2 separate regions of the Homo sapiens genome follow, and region 2 is linked to region 1. Evidence: promoter capture Hi-C in 16 types of primary human blood cells and fetal thymus (Javierre and others, 2016). All regions are on one chromosome and are shown on one strand. The core of a region is centred on a gene start or on the middle of the fragment in contact, and the rest is flanking DNA. Distances in the headings are between cores, read along the strand shown. Region 1 holds the start of CCN4 (cellular communication network factor 4). Region 2 has its middle 140 kb from the start of NDRG1.

Region 1 (2,683 bases), core at 90-2,589:
AAGTGTACAGGGAGCTGGCTGGCCCAGGGGCCACGCCAGGACTGGGGACTCTGTGCTGTGTGATGGGCAGGCTTTGGACAGTTGTATCCAGAAGATGATCTATACATGACGCTAGTTCAAGGATTGCTCTGAGATGTGTGGATGGTAGAAGGTGGGCAGGGAGGCTGGGTATCAGTCAGGAGGCTGTGGCAGCGGTCCCCATGGGGAGCACAGGGCTGGACTAGGACAGCCCATAGAAGACATCCCATCTCCTTTCTTGCCCAAGGAAGAGACTCAGTGGCAGCAGTGCAATAAGGGTACAGGCCAGGAAACCCAACCCCCCAGGGATAGCAAGCATCCAGAGACACGTGGGGACAGCTCCAGCACCAAACGGCTTCTGACCAATGAGCAGAGACGGCAAACAGCAAATGCGTTACCGTGGCTTTCACGTGTCATGAAGGTGATGCTGTAACCTGAGCCTCAGAGCTCATTTTATTTGTGAATTCCTATCATCTCTAGATGGGTGGACTGAAAGCCACCTCTTTCGCTTGCAGCTAGGTAGAGGGGAGTGCAAGAGGGCAAATGAAAACCAGAAGTAGGGTTGGGCGCAATGCCTCACGCCTGTAATCCCAGCACTTTGGGAGGCTGATGTGGGCGGATTACCTGAGGTCAGGAGTTTGAGACCAGCCTGGCCAACATGGTGAAACCTCGTCTCTACTAAAAATACAAAAATCAGCTGGGTGTGGTGGCACATGCCTGTAATCTCAGCTATTCAGGAGGCTGAGGCAGGAGAATTGCTTGAGCCTGGGAGACAGAGGTTGCAGTGAGCAGAGATCGCGCCACTGCACTCCAGCCTGGCCGACAGAGCGAGACTCTGTCTCAAAAAAAAAAAAAAAAAAAAAAAAAAAGAAAAGAAAAGAAAAAGAAAAAGAAAAGGAAAAAGAAAACCAGAAGTAGGAGCAGCCTGAAGAAATGACAGGGAGTTGATTTCCCACTGGGAGCCCTCTCAAAGCCCACACACCCGCCTGCCTGGGGTAACAGTATCTCCTCGGACATCCTGCACCCTCCCATGCTCCCCCCTCCCTACAGTAGTGAAAGACCTAGGCAGGATGACCCCAGCTCCTCTGTGAGAATTTCACACCCTAGTGTGAAGTCATAGCCTTGTAACTTTCCCTTTAAGAACTGTCAGAGCTGGGGAGGCTGGCCAAGCTCAGGCTGGAGGTGGGGACAGAGGGAAGAAAGAAAAAAAAAAAAGAGAGAGAGGCAGGAAAAGTTTTTTCAGAGGAAAATGCAGGGTTTGTCCTTCACCCTGACGTCAGATCTTGCTTTAATAAAACCCCCCAAGGGCTGCGGAAGAGGCATATCTGGTGCTCCTGATGGGCCGGCCAGTCTGGGCCCAGCTCCCCCGAGAGGTGGTCGGATCCTCTGGGCTGCTCGGTCGATGCCTGTGCCACTGACGTCCAGGCATGAGGTGGTTCCTGCCCTGGACGCTGGCAGCAGTGACAGCAGCAGCCGCCAGCACCGTCCTGGCCACGGTGAGTCCTGCCTGGAGGGGCTCAGAGGGAGACCCAGCTCCCTTCTCTACTGGGTCCTGCTACATGGGGGCTGGTGGGCAGGATGAAAAGGGCCAGGAAGGTTTGGGGCTGGAAGGTGGCCACTTACAGGGCAAGGACAGAGCCCAGGGTGAGGAGTCAGCTGCCCAGGTTGGCTGAAGCTGGCAGGGTGAGGAGGACGGTGCGACACTTGGGGAAACAAACTGCACAGGTCCAGCCTGCCCTCTCTCCCCACCTGAAACAGTGCAGAAAGAACGGGGCCCTCAGCAGAACTGGGAGTCAGGGGCCCGGGCTCCAGACCCGTCTTCGCCTAACCTGGCTGTGTGGCCTCGGGTGGGTCACTCACCCTCCAGGAGCAGCGTAAAGCGACGAAGTTGTTAGGTGACTTCTAGAGTCTCTGAGTTTGAAAACTCCAAGACTCCAAGCATTGGAGATGCTGCGAAGATGGGAGATGGAAAAAGCCAAAAAAAATTGGAAAGAAAAATGCCAGCTTTCAACAAAAGCTCCTTATTGAGCAAACAGTGCTCAGGGTGATGTCTAACCCCAACTGCTGTCACCTCCGGTCTGCACAGCCCTCTGCAGTCTGCAGAGTGTCCATACTTGGGTCCTGCCTATGAAGCCTGCTGTTCCAGGGTGGGGGTGATGTGGGCACCCCAGAGTCTCTCTCTCTTCCACCTGCACCCCAGGGTACACCAAGGGGAAGGGACAAAGGTCTGCACCTCCAAAAGCCAGGGGAGTCACATATGTGACCGTGTAGAGCCAGCCTGCTAGGGCCAGGCATGGTGAGGAAAAGGCAGAGGCAGGCAGTGCAAGGAGGGCAGGAGGTGGGTACCTGGCAGCTTCTGAGCCCCAGATTCCACAGCCCAGGGCAGGACCTGCTCCTGGCAGAACAGCCTAGAGACGGAGGGGTGATGGCAAAAGAGTGTTTATCCCCAAATGACACTGATGGCTTCCTTGGGGGTTAAGAAGCCCCCTTCACAGATAAGGAAACCGTGTGTTGGGGTTAAACCACTTGCCAGAATCAGACTCTAGGTCTGCTTCAGCCAGAACTGAGGCCGAGAGCCGACAGCAAACTGAGACCTGGGAAATAGGAATTCCTCTCAATGCCTCGGTGTGTGTAATGATGGCGGGGAGTGGGTCTGTTTCATCTT
Region 2 (2,683 bases), core at 106-2,605, 240 kb after region 1:
CCAGTCTTGATACCTCCTTGATTTCCTTCATAGCATTTGTCTCATTCCTTCTCCTCCTCCTCATCCTCCTGGGCACCCTGCTGGACCACATTTCAAGCCTTGTTTGCAGTGAGGTGTGGGTGGCTTTATGACGATGCCCCAGTCAATGGTATGTGGGTGAGAGTAGTGTGGTCTGTTTTGAGTACTGGTTTGAAAAAAATCTTCCACATTGTCCTCTGTGCTCTCTCTACTCCTGTCTGTAAGGGCAGGCACAGAGAATTCAGTGAGGACTAGATGTTCTTAGCCAATTGTGGAGTCATGAGATAGTGGAGCCTGTACCCCCACATCAAGGAAGACCTCCTAATAAACCCCCATATTGAGTTTCTGTCTGAGGAAAAAAAATGTATTTTCATTGTGTTAAGCCACTGAGATTTTGCAGGTGTCAGCCAACCTGACATTTTTATTTGTATTATATTTTCTTACTGTTGTATTGCCAGTCTTTTCCTACTAAAGTAGAACCTCCATGAAGCCAGTCCCTGGCTATTTTTGCCCCTATTGATGCCTCAGCAACTAGCACAGTCTCTGGTGCACAACCAAAGCTTGCTGAATGAATGAATAAATGAATGTTCTATGGAGTTCTATGTTCTATGGAGATCCAAAGCCCACCTCAAGTGTCTGCTCATTTCTGAGGACTTGGGTTCAAGGGCTCAGGGTTCTGGCACTTTGCTTTTCTTCCTGTTGAATTCATTAATTTTCAGTGTCATCATTCCATCTTTATTTACATTATGATAAGTCAGGCATAAGACTCCATCCCTTTCTGTGACTGACACACACACACACACACACACACACACACACACACACACACACAGCATCCCAAGGCCTTTGTGTGTGTGCAGGATCCTTGGCTAAAGGTGGAAGGCAGAGGAGAGCCTTCACTCCATAGCTATGTCTACACATGCAACAACCTATTTTTTTTTTTTACTTTGTTTATGTATTTATTTCCTAAGACAGGGTCTCCCTCTATTACCCAAGCTGGAGTGTAGTGACACCATTACCACTCACTGTGGGCTTGATCTCCTGGTCTCAGCCATTCTTCCATCTCAGCCTCCTGAGCATCTGGGACCTCAGGTGCAGACCACCACACCTGGCTATTTTTTTTTCTTTTTGGAGATAGAGTCTCACGACGTTGCCCAGGCTGGTCTCAAACTCCTGGGCCCAAGCAGTCCTCCTGTCTTACTCTCCCAAAGTACTGGGATCCCAGGCATGAACAACAATGCTCAGCAATGACCCATTTTTAAATGTCTAGGGCCACCTCTTATCTCGCCCAGGCTGTTTTCACTGCCATTCCCTCCACATTTTGTTCTAATGGCATGCTAGTTTTCTGGGTTTCCTCTTCTTCTTCTGCCTCTCCTCTATTCCATATTATGCTTTTTGACTCAACAAAAGTTGCAACCATATATCCCATCTCACATGCTCTTCTACCATGTAACTCTGCCATGCTCCCAACCAGAGTGGCAGTTTCTGCCTCGCCCCTGGACTACTCAGCCTGCGACGGCTCCACCCCAGCAGGGCATGGAGAGAGTAATTATGTTCCCTGCAAAGCAGCTTCCACCTCCTCCACTGGACGCTGCTTTTGGAAACCTGAGCTGACAGGTGAGAGGTTCGACTCCCCTGAGCCACAGTACTGTGAGGAAGTCTTGATCACCTGGAGAGGTTGTGACAGATGCTCTGGTCACCAGCCCTGAATGAAGCCCCATCTGTAAAAACCAAAAGTGCCATCTGTAAAAACCGAAAATAGCAGGCCCGAGGTGCCTGCTATTGAGTCACCCCAATTGGTTGAGTCTTCCCAGTTGAGGTCCCAGACACCCTGGAGCAGAGGCGAGCCACCCCTGCCATGCACTGTCCCAGTTCCTGACCCACAGAATTCGTGAGCACAATAAAATAGTTGTTTTATGTCACTAAGTTTTAGGATCTTTGCTCCACAGCAATATATCAACAGGAACATCTCTTCCCTGCTCTCTCAGAGGCAAAGAAAAAATTCCCTTCATTTTCCTCAGCAGAGCTGTGCAGTCGGTTCTTTCGTTGTCTCAGTCCCTGCCCTCAGGGTCTCACATTCTACCCCAAGTGGCTTGTGAAGGTATTTTCTTAAACAAAGCTTGGAGGTGCTCTGATGCCAGCAATTAAGATAACAAAGTGTTTTATCTCTGCCAAGTTTTTTAGTACTTTGCACATAAGACGCTTAATGAATGTTGGTTTTAAATTCCGTATTCTTCTTTGAACTCATGGGGAGTGGGAAGGTGAGTAGAAGGCTGGAATAGGGAATAATCTGAGGATTCCAGAAATATGCATTGGCTCACATTGAACTCAGCATCTGTAGCAAGTAGGATCCAGCAATCAAAGAGCTTCTACTGAAAGTTTAATAGAGGAAATTTAATCCAGAGAATTAGGTTCAATGGTATTGGAAGAACTGAGAAGCCTTTTATGTAGGGTTGCCAGATAAAATACAGAATTGCCAGTTAAATTTGCATTTCGGATAAACAATGATTTTTTTTACATGAAACTGTATGTCCCGTGTAATATTTGGAAATAGGTTTGTTGTTTATCTGAAATGCAAATTTAACTGGGCTTCCTGTGTTTCTATTTGCTAATTTTGGTAACCCTACTCACAAGGAGGACATTGAGACAACTGAGAGGTTAGAAC

What was found. The method cuts DNA at HindIII sites, captures the fragments that hold promoters and counts their contacts. A CHiCAGO score of 5 or more calls a contact.
Region 2: a contact is called between a fragment that was not itself captured here and the fragment with the promoter of CCN4 in region 1, in 8 of 17 cell types (naive CD4 T cells, naive CD8 T cells, activated CD4 T cells and 5 more). The highest score is 8.6, in naive CD4 T cells.

What each region holds. Positions count from the first base shown.
Region 1 is chr8:133,189,700-133,192,382 of GRCh38, forward strand. CCN4 (cellular communication network factor 4) reads left to right here and starts at 1,340. Exons shown (of 5, transcript NM_003882.4): 1 at 1,340-1,514. The coding sequence starts at 1,446. RefSeq lists a silencer at 2,212-2,459. The HindIII fragment of the contact is 13,274 bases long and covers 1-2,683 here.
Region 2 is chr8:133,431,441-133,434,123 of GRCh38, forward strand. No RefSeq gene overlaps it. Among named protein-coding and RNA genes, the nearest start is that of NDRG1, 140 kb to the left of the region's middle. The HindIII fragment of the contact is 1,559 bases long and covers 577-2,135 here.